Linked DNA regions of Homo sapiens: region 1 is linked to region 2. Evidence: promoter capture Hi-C in 16 types of primary human blood cells and fetal thymus (Javierre and others, 2016). All regions are on one chromosome and are shown on one strand. The core of a region is centred on a gene start or on the middle of the fragment in contact, and the rest is flanking DNA. Distances in the headings are between cores, read along the strand shown. Region 1 overlaps IST1 (IST1 factor associated with ESCRT-III). Region 2 holds the start of PHLPP2 (PH domain and leucine rich repeat protein phosphatase 2).

What was found. Contacts are between HindIII fragments. The CHiCAGO score rates a contact against its expected background, and 5 or more counts as called.
Region 1: a fragment that was not itself captured here is called in contact with the fragment with the promoter of PHLPP2 in region 2 in 1 of 17 cell types (non-activated CD4 T cells); the score reaches 5.7 in non-activated CD4 T cells.

Annotation. Positions count from the first base shown.
Region 1 is chr16:71,899,609-71,905,000 of GRCh38, reverse strand. All of the region lies in intron 1 of IST1 (IST1 factor associated with ESCRT-III), which reads right to left. Among named protein-coding and RNA genes, the nearest start is that of IST1, 6.8 kb to the right of the region's middle. The HindIII fragment of the contact is 442 bases long and covers 1,589-2,030 here.
Region 2 is chr16:71,721,963-71,727,195 of GRCh38, reverse strand. PHLPP2 (PH domain and leucine rich repeat protein phosphatase 2) reads left to right here and starts at 2,495. Exons shown (of 19, transcript NM_015020.3): 1 at 2,495-2,867. RefSeq lists a silencer at 2,922-3,891 and an enhancer at 3,657-4,158. The HindIII fragment of the contact is 20,650 bases long and covers 1-5,233 here.

The DNA of each region.
Region 1 (5,392 bases), core at 560-3,059, 180 kb before region 2:
AATGGAATTTAAAAATATGTTCAAATAGCTCAAAAAGCAGGAAACAGAAACAAAAATGAGAGAACAGAAAACAAATAATAAAATGTAGACCTAAACTCAAACATTCAAAAATTACATAATTAAATGAAAATGGTATAAACACAATTAAAAGACAGATATTGTGAGAATGAACCAAAAAATGATCCACTATATACTGTCAACAACAAACTCACTTCAAATATAATAATGTAGGTAGTTTAAAAGTAAAGTATGGGAAAGGTATATATGCAAACACTAATCAAAAGAAAGTTGGAGGCCAGGTATGGTGGCTCATGCCGTAAGCCCAGCACTTTGGGAGGCTGATGTGGGAGGATCGCTGGAGCTCAGGAGTTCAAGACCAGACTAAGAGCAAGATCCCATCTCTACAATTAAAAATAAAAATTAGCTGGACACGGTAGCATGTGCCTGTAGTCCCAGCTACTCGGGGGGACTGAAGTGGGAGAACTGCTTAAGCCCAGGAGGTCAAGGCTGCAGACAGCCATGTTTGTGCAAGTGCACTCCAGACTGGGCAACAGAGCAAGATCCTGTCTCAAAACAACAGGCCGGGCGCAATGGCTCACGCCTGTAATCCCAAAACTTTGGCAGGCCGAGGCAGGTGGATCACTTAGGTCAGGAGTTCGAGATCAGCCTGGTCAACATGACGAAACCCCATCTCTACTAAAAATAAAAAATTAGCCAGGCGTGGTGGCATAAGCCTGTAATCCCAGCTACTTGGGAGGCTGAGGCAGGAAAATTGCTTGAACCTGGCAGGCAGAGATTGCAGCGAGCGGAGATCACACCACTGCACTCAGCCTGGGCAACAACAGCGAAACTCCGTCTCAAAACAACCACCACCACCACCAAACAAATAGAACGTTGGAGGGGTTACATTAAAATCAGACAAAGTAGACTTCAGAGAAAGGAAAACCAGGGATACAGAAGGACATTACATAAGCATAAAAGGGTGAAGTCACCAGGAAGATACAACAATCCTAACTGTGAATGCACCCAACAACAGAGCTTCAAAAACAAAAAGCAAAAACTAACAGAGAGGAAAGGAGAAATAAATCTAATTATAGTTAGAGGCTTCAACATACCTCCCACCATAACTGATCAACCTAGCAGACAGAACACAAACAAGGACAGTGAACTGAACACCACCACCAACTGACGGCATCTCACTGACACTTACAGAACATTACACCCAACACAGCAGTGTACTAGAACATTCATGAATGTAGGACATAGCTGGGGTTCTAAAATCAAACTTAACAAATTAAATAGGACCAGGCATGGTAGCTCTCACCTATAACCTCAGCTACTTGAGAGGCTGAGGTAGAAGGATCGTTTGAGGCCAAGGGACCAGCCTGAGTAACACAGTAAGACCTCGTCTCTATTAAATTTTTAAAGAAGAGGAAAACAAAACCCAAATTAAATAGAATTGAAGTCATACCAAGAATGTTCTTTAACTGTAATGGAATTAAACTAGAAATCAACAGAAAATCTCTTAACATTTGGGAATTCAACAATATACTTCTAGATGAACTGCTTGGAGGTCAAAGAGAAAGCTTCAAGTGAAAAAAATTTTTTAAAGGTTTGTACTGAAAAAAAAAATATATATATGTAACGAATTTGTGGGATGTAGCTAAGGCAGTGCTTAGAGAAAAAATTATATCATTAAGGTTTTAATTAGAAAAGAAGAGGCCAGGCTCAGTGGTTCACACCTGTAATTCCAGCACTTTGGGAGGCCAAGGGGAGAGGATCACTTGAGGCCAGGAGTTTGAGACCAGCTTGGACAATGTAGCAAGACCCCATTCTCTACAAAAAAATTAAAACATTAGCAGGGCATGGTGGCACACACCTGGAGTCCCAGCTACTTGCAAGGCTGAGGCAGTGAGCACGAGAGTTTGAGGAGGCAGTGAGCTATGATCATGCCCACTGCACTCTAGGCTGGACAACAGAGCAAGACTCTGTCTCTCCAGAAAAAAGGTCTCAAATTACTAATCTAAGCTTCCACATTAAGGAACCAGAAAAAGAGCAAAATCAAACCAAAGTAAGCAAAAACAACAAAAAGAAAGCAAAAATCAATGAAATAGAAGAAAAAATAGAAAAAAAATCAAGGAAACTAAATGCTGATTCTTCAAAACGATTTTTTAAAAACTGACATACCTATATAACAAACTCACAAAGAAAAGGAACATATAAACATATAAATTATCAGTATCAGCGATGAAAGGGTGAATATCACTACAGATTCTAAAGACTTTTAAAGGCGATATTATAACCAACATATATCTATAAATTCAACAATTAAATGAAATAAACAAATCCCTCAGAAACTCAAATTTACTAAATTTGACACAAAGAAATAGAAAATATAGCTGCACTAGATCTATTACAAAAATTGAATCTAGGCTGGGCGCGGTGGCTTACGCCTATAATCCCAGCACTTTGGGAAGCCGAGGCGGGCAGATTACTTGTGGTCAAGAGTTCGAAACCAGGTTGGCCAACATGGTGAAACCCCATCTCTACTAAAAATACAAAAATTAGCCAGGCGTGGTGGCAGGCATCTGTAATCCCAGCTACTCGGGAGGCTGAGGCAGAAGAATTGCTTGAACCCAGGAGGTGGAGGTTGCAGTGAGCCGAGATCACACCACTGCATTCCAGCCTGGATGACAGAGCCAGACTTTGTCTCAAAAAAAAAACAATTAAATCTAAAATTAAGAACCATTCCCAAAGAAAATCCAGGCCCAGGTGGCTTCTCTGGCAAATTCTATCAAACATCTGAGGAAAATCAGTACTAATATTACATGAACCTTCACACCTCTTGGGCTGGTATGAGAATTAAGTGAAAATTTGTAAAGAAATTAGCACATTGTGTTATATGTACACAGTAAGCACCATGTAAACATTTGTTAAATAAATTCCAGTCAATGGACCCATATTTTAAAAAGTCTTAGCTCTTCATCTAAAGATTAGCTAGCCTCTTTTGTGTGTTTTATGTTAAAATAAGATGTTTAAGGCATGCTTTATATCTTTTTCCCTCGGTTTAACAATTCTGATTAATCTGTTTCAATCTCACTGCAAGACAACTGTTTCTTACATACTGCCTAGAACGGTATGTCACCCACACACTGCCTAGCACAGTGTTTTGTACAAAGCTGTCGCTCATGTATTATGTTAATTAGTAGAAAATTTAATTAAAAACCACATGCTTTTAAAAAAATTCTACAAATTTACATAATCTAGTTTTGTTTTAGAATTAAGGAAAGAAAAGCAATTTGCTAAACTATTTTGTTAAGTACTGAGGATTTTTCAACTCCTATTCAACAGATCCCCATTTTACGAAGAAACTAATCATTAAAGACAATGACAGTAAACCACAAAAGTAGTAACTAAAGGATATATCCTAAATGATTACCAGTACATTAAATAAATCAGACTAAAAACGAATTTAAAGCAAAAGACTACGCAGGGCGCGGTGGCTCACACCTGTAATCCCAGCACTTTGGGAGGCCGAGGTGGGTGGATCACGAGGTCAGGAGATCGAGACCATTCTGGCTAACGCAGTGAAACCCCATCTCTACTAAAAACACAAAAAATTAGCTGGGTGTGGTGATGGGTGCCTGTAGTCCCAGCTATTTGGGAGGGTGAGGCAGGAGAATGGCGTGAACCCGGGAGGTGGAGCTTGCAGTGAGCCGAGATCGTGCTACTGCACTCCAGCCTGGGCGACAGAGCAAGATTCCGTCTCAAAAAAAAAGAAAAAAAACCAAAAGACTGACTTAATTACTATCTCAGAATTTGAACCTGTTTCCAAAGCTAAACATAACATAAACTTTGTTATCCTGTATGATTAGGAACATTAATTTTGGAAATAATAACCTAAAAGTTAATAAAATATTCTAGTCAACATTTACTATTCATATATACATTAACAAACATAAACAAATTTTTATACATATGTGATTATATACACATCACATACTAACATTGTCCAGTAAGTAATCTAAAATTCTTTTTGTGATTCAGACGTTACTCTAAAATCACTGTGCTTCAACATCTTTACTGTCATTCACTCACTCACCAAATATTTATTGAGTGCTATTCTATTAAGCACTGTGCTAAGCCACTGTCTACAACAGACATTCAAATGAGAGCTTCCCTAGCCTTCAAGGGGCTCACAATCAAATGGGTATAGCTGACATAAAAACAACTATAAGACAAGTAAGCAATTATAACATAAACTCTAAAAAATGGTTATGAACTAGTGACCACAATCCTAGTTCTCGGTATTCTGTTTATATACATATATACTTATCTTTATTAGTGTAACACCATTATTTTTATTAGTGTCACACATGGATCAGCAGCCCAATCCTTCACTTTACTCCAATTCTTAACACTGGCATAGCAAACCCATCTAGTTCCTCTTTTATCACTCAGCTCGCTGAGACTTCGCGAGCTAGTTAGCCTCCCCATCCTGAATAAGCAAAGTAAAACCATGGACTGAGTCCTTCCTCTTAGGATATCTGGAGGAGGAAAAGAATCAGAACTGCTGCCCAAAATAGTGAAGCTGCCCAGAAGTAGTGATCCTGAAAGCTCTATTCAAAGTAGTAGCAGCTAAAAGTAGCCAAAAAAAAAAAAAAAAAAAAAAAGACTTCCTAAGGGAGTAAACTCAGTGTTTGTAGCTCTAAAAGTACGAAGTGAGGAGGGGAGAGAGCAAGGTCAAGACTGGCTACAGACACTCCAATACGTACAAAAGCTTTTGGTTTTGACGTGTGTTATTTTATTTATTCTGATCTTTTTTTTTTTTTTTGAGACCGAGTTTCACTCTTGTTGCCCAGGCTGGAATGCAATGGTGCGATTTCAGCCTACTGCAACCTCCACCTCCCAGGTCCAAGCGATTCTCCTGCCTCAACCTCCCAGGTAGCTAGGATTACAGGTGTCTGCCATCACGCCCAGCTAATTTTTTTTTTTTTTTTTTTTGAGACAGAGTCTTGTTCTGTCGCCGAGGCTAGAGTGCAGTGGCGCAATCTTGGCTCACTACTACCTCTGCCTCAGCCTCCCGAGTAGCTGGGACTACAGGCACCCACCACCATACCCAGCTAATTTTTTATATTTTTAGTAGAGACAGGGTTTCACCGTGTTAGCCAGGATGGTCTCGATCTCCTGACCTTGTGATCCACCCGCCTCGGCCTCCCGAAGTGCTGGGATTACAGGCGTTAGCCACCATGCCCGGCTGTTCGCCCAGCTAATTTTTTCTATTTTTAGTAGAGACAGGGTTTCACCATGTTGGCTAGGCTGGTCTCAAACTCCTGACCTCAGGTGATCCACCCGCCTCGGCCTCCCAGAGTGCTGGGATTACAGGTATGAG
Region 2 (5,233 bases), core at 1,246-3,745:
CCTTCTCCAGACTTCCCATTTTGTAGTGAAGATCTGGAAAAGCTCCTGGCATAAAGAAGGTGTGTGCGTGTGTACATACCAGAGAGGGGAAGCACAGCTGCTACAGGAAGGAGACAGAAAGGAGAGATCATGATGACTTCTCTGTCTCTTGGTTTGAGCTAAACAGTGATTTTTGTAATGATGAACCTGCAGTGAGGGCAGATGGATTTTCGCACAAAAAAAATCCCAGAGGAATTTATTTTTAGGGTTAGTCTCAGCTGTTTACCATTTCCAGAAATTGTAGTTACATAACCCTTGGCATACATAATGCACAGTGCCTTGAACTGGGGGAGAACATCAATATGTGACCTTTGAAACAAAGTATAAAATGTTAATGGCACTACATGATTTGAAAAAAATCAACTGGTTGTCACTACTGAATTGGATCTTAAATCATGGGAACCATTAAAGGTAGTTACATCATAAATTAGCCCCTGAAACTTTTGGGCGGATGGGTTTTTTTTTTTATGTTTTCCCTTTTGAAAGAGGAACTACTGTTGCCAGAATGAAGAAGTAAATAGCAATGCTTATGCCTACTATCCCTTTAATTAAACAATTATTCACCACTGCTGTTCCCCAGCATGAGCTGAAACTTTAGTTCTGCAACAAGATCTTTCCTTTTTGTGTAGTCAGTCAATAAAGAGCTTCTACTCATGAAATCTGGAAAAGGTAATGTATAATGCCTCAAGAAACAGACTCTTACAGCCAGGTGTGGTGGCTCACACCTGTAATCCCAGCATTTTGGGAGGCTGAAGTGGGCGGATGGCTTGAGCTCAGGAGTTCGAGACCAGCTTGGACAATATGGTGAAGCCCCATCTCTACAAAAAAAATGCAAAAAGTAGCCAAGCGTAGGGTGGTGCTCACTTGTGGTCCCAGCTACTGGGAGGCTGAGGTGGCATGATCACCTTAGCCCATGGAGGTTGAACCTGCAGTGAGCTATGATTGTGTCCATACCGTACTCCAGCCTGAGCAACAAAGCGAGACCCTGTCTCAAAAATAAAAAAAATATAAAAGGCTTTTGAAAAACACTTTTTTTTTTCCTTGAGACAAGAGTCTCCCTCTGTCACCCAGACTGCAGTGCAGTGGCGCGATATCTCGGCTCACTGCAACCTCCACCTCCCAAGTTCAAGTGATTCTCCTGCCTCAGCCTCCTGAGTAGCTGGGCCTACAGGCTCGTGCCCCCACACTGCCTAATTTTTGTATTTTTAGTAGAGATGGGGTTTTGCCATGTTGGCCAGGCTGGGTTCAAACTCCTGACCTCAGGTGATCTGCCCGTCTTGGCCTCCCAAAGTGCTGAATTACAGGCATGAGCCACTGCACCCAGCCAGAAACACTTGTTCTAAACCACATTTTTTTCTTATCACTGCTTGCCTGCCCTTGTTAAAATTTGCTTCTGTCTCCATATTGGTGCCTATTGCTTATATACCAGTTTTCTTGTTGGGAGAAATTACCCAGTAAGCACTGAAATGGGAATCCAACTACTTTGAGTACCTTTCCTGAAAATAATTTCAAGGTGGAAGGAAAATCCAGGAGGTGGATGACCTAAGAGTTTTCTCCCACCTTAAACCAGACTCACAGTGACAAATCGTTTTTAATGCATTAAAATGAGGCCAAGAAATGAAGATTACTGGAGATTGGAATTTTGGTATATACAAAGCTAACTTGTGAAGGGAGAAAGTAGGTCAGAAAGGGGTCGGAACCTGCAAGAGCCAAATTTGGTCCTGGCATTTAAAATATCTCCAAATGGATACATATCTCAGATGGGGGACACAGACTGCTCTGTTAAATCTAAAAGTCTTGTACTAAGCCTGCAATTATTCTAGACATACAGTTAGTCTGAATGAGGCAAACTGAAGCAATGGATAATAGGGACAAAGGGTCCTGCTTTGTCACCCAGGCTGGAGTGCAGTGGCACGATCTCGTCTCACTGCAACCTCCGCCTCCCGGGTTCAAGCGATTCTCCTGCCTCCACCTCCCAAGTGGCTGGGATTACAGGCGTGCGCCACCCTGCCCAGCTCATTTTTTTGTATTTTTGGTATAGACAGGGTTTCGCTATGTTGGTCAGGCTGGTCTCGGACTCCTGGCCTCAAGTAATCTGCCTGCCTTGGCTTCCCAAAGTACTGGAATTACAGTTCTATGAAAGTGAAGAAATTACTGTTTTTTGCTGTCTAATTCCTTACAAGTTGCTTGAAGATTCAACACCCTATGTATGAGGGGAAGCCCTAAAAATCTGGAAGTCTAGAAGCCTTCCTAGGAAAATTTAGGAGGAATCGACAGAGTACTTTTCGAGAAACCGATTGGATCTTCAATTTAGAATTTTGGAATTATAATGGCTACTATGGATCCCCACTATACGTTAGGCACTTTGTATGCACTAAATCTTCATCATAACTACTTGGCAGATTTTAATCTCTTTCTCACAGCTTAAGAACGAAAGGCTTAGATCAAGTAACTTGCACAGGGGTATAGATCTAAAGAAGGGCAGAGGGGAGATCTGGAAACAGGCTGGCTGACTCCAAATTTGGCCCATTGGCAACAAAACTACTATCACTGCGAGAACGAAAAGAAAAACAAAACAAAGAAAAGAAAAGAAGTTAACTTTTAAAAGTTTTTTTCTGAATCAGCCTTGCAAATAAATCATAAACCGGGTCACAGGCCATATTACTGCTTGAAGCAGAGCACCGAATTCTGATAATTTTGCTCCAGGAGGAGGCAAGGGAATTAAAACATGGCTGGGAGGTGAGCGGACGTTTTGTACGAGGTTGGGTTGAATTTGCTTAAGAAGGTCGCACGCATCTCTGATAAGGAAGAGAAAAGGCCTTGCCAAGGTGAGTATTCTCAACAGTTCGTTCAACGGCTTGGCAGGTGAGGGAAGTTACAAGAGCCACCCTGGCGGAGGGCAGCGTCTTGTCACAATTGACAGGTGCCGGCGCCACCTGCTTCTTTCTCCCGCGGGTTTCTTAGAGGGCGGGGAAAGCAGCAAATACCCCTCCTTGCGCTCTAGTCCTCCAAGCCTAGGGCGGCGGGCAGTGGAGGCCCAGCGCTCTGCGGTGGTGCCAGGTTCCGCCACGCGGGCCGCGGCCGGAATGCGGCTCGGTGGCGCCCGGGCCACTCGGCGCCGGCAGCTGCTTAGGTCCAGCGGGGCTGCGGGAGGGGCGGAGCTGGCGAGCCGCCGGAGGGGCGGAGCCGGCGGGCCGCGGGGGGCGGGGCCACCGGTTGCTCGCGCGCGCCGCCGAGGCTCCGCACGCCGTCGCGCGGGCCGGGCGTCTCTGTGAATCCTGGGTCGCCGATGGGGGAGGTGGAGCCGGGGCCCGCGGGCCCGCTGGAGCCCCCGGAGCCGCCCGAAGCGCCCGCGAGCCGCCGGCCGGGAGGGATCCGGGTCCTGAAGGTGAGGAGGCGGATGGACCAGCGAGCGAGCGAGCGGGCGAGCGGGCAAGCGGACTAGGGAGGGAACGAGGGAGGCTAGAGGCCGCTGCCGCCCCCGCCCCGCGCAGTGGCTGAGGCAGTCGGCGGCCCCCGCCCGGCGTCAGTCAGTCGGCCGCCCCACACCCGGCTGGGGACGCCGAGGCCTCCGCGCCGCGCCCGCGTCCAGGCCTCGGCGCCTCGGTACCCCGCTGCTGCCCATCCCTGGCCGCGCGCCGCCCGCCTCGCAGGCCCACGCCTTTGGGCTGCGGGTAGCCGCCGCCCACCCGGACCCTTCGCCGCCCCTGCTTGCCTCGCCGCGCTCGGGGCCCGGAGGCCGGCTCCGGAGGGCTCGGAGGGCCGCCGGTTCCTGGCACAGGAGCGGGGCTGGAAGTACGCAGGGCTTTCTCCCCTCCCGGACACCTGAAGACATCACCCCAGCGGGAGGATGGCAGCGGCGATTGGCCGGCGCCGCGGAGGGTTCGGGGCCAGGCCGGGTGGAGCCGGCTCCTCTGCCCTCGGGGCTCGCTACCCGAGGTGCCAGCCGGCAAGGACGACCCGCCCAGCTTGGAGAGAGAATCCCCGCTGGAGCTGCGTCGCGGGGACTTGCTGGGCGTGTTGCGGAAGGGAGGAGGGGCCGGGCCGAAAGGGGCATTCCTGCTCCCGGGAGCGGGGCCGACTGCCGAGGGAGACGGAATGGGGGAGCCGTTATGCAACAGGCAGCTAGCGGGGCTTCTTGGCAGGAATTGGGGGAGTGGGAGGATATGAAAACAGATGTAGGCAAGAGGGGAGTGGAACCTTGAAGGTGATGAGAAGTAAGTTTACGAAGGAATGCACAAGGTAGGGTGGCGATAGTGGGGAGGAGAAGATGGTTAAAGGGAGGGGTTGTGGGAGGCTGACTGGGTGGAGTTTTTTACTAGCATTTGAAAGAGTTGCAGAGAAATTTTTCTGTAGGTCAAATACGTAAACTAGGTGTCCTTCCGCAGGTGGAATGGAATTCCTTCTAGAGTTCTACATGAGGAATTCAGGATATGAAACTTGCCCAGTAGAAGGATGGAAAGGAAAGAAAATTTAAATTTGATGTGTTTCAAAAATACATTGCAAAACAAAACGTATGATGTTAAAAATCCTTTAGTAGTTTATTGGGATTGAGGTTCAGCAGTATTTACATGTTATGAAGGTTAGTACGATGTTACAAAGATGGGAACACGGAAAAACAATAATAGAACCCAGTGAATCCATGGAACAACGTAAACTAGAACTCTGTAAAATATAAAACATTTTTTGTGCTACTGCCTCTCAGTTTTTTTTCTTTTTATTTATTTTTTGAGACAGGGTCTCACTCTGTCACCCAAGCCTGAGTGCAGTGACTCGATCTCTGCAACCTCTGCCTCCAGGGTTCAAGCGATTCTCCTGCCTCAGCCTCTTGAGTAGCTAGGATCACGGGCACCCGCCACCACACCCCACTGATTTTTTTGTATTTTTAGTAGAGACAGGGTTGCGCTATGTTTCCCAGGCTGGTCTTGAACTCCTGATCTCCAGTGATCCGCCCGCCTTGGCCTCCCGAAGTGTTGGAATTACAAGGATGAGCCACCACGCCCGGCCTCATACAGTTTTGTTAAGTAGCTGAGTGGTTGAATTGTGCCAAGTGATGCTGGAAAAGAAGTATTACAGTAGAATACTCTGAATTGGGAAGAGTCATCTCCCACTCATTTTTCTCTGAAGACCCTTCCAAAACTTCATTCTTTTTTGTAACTCTTTTATACCTAATACCAAATCATGAACATTATTG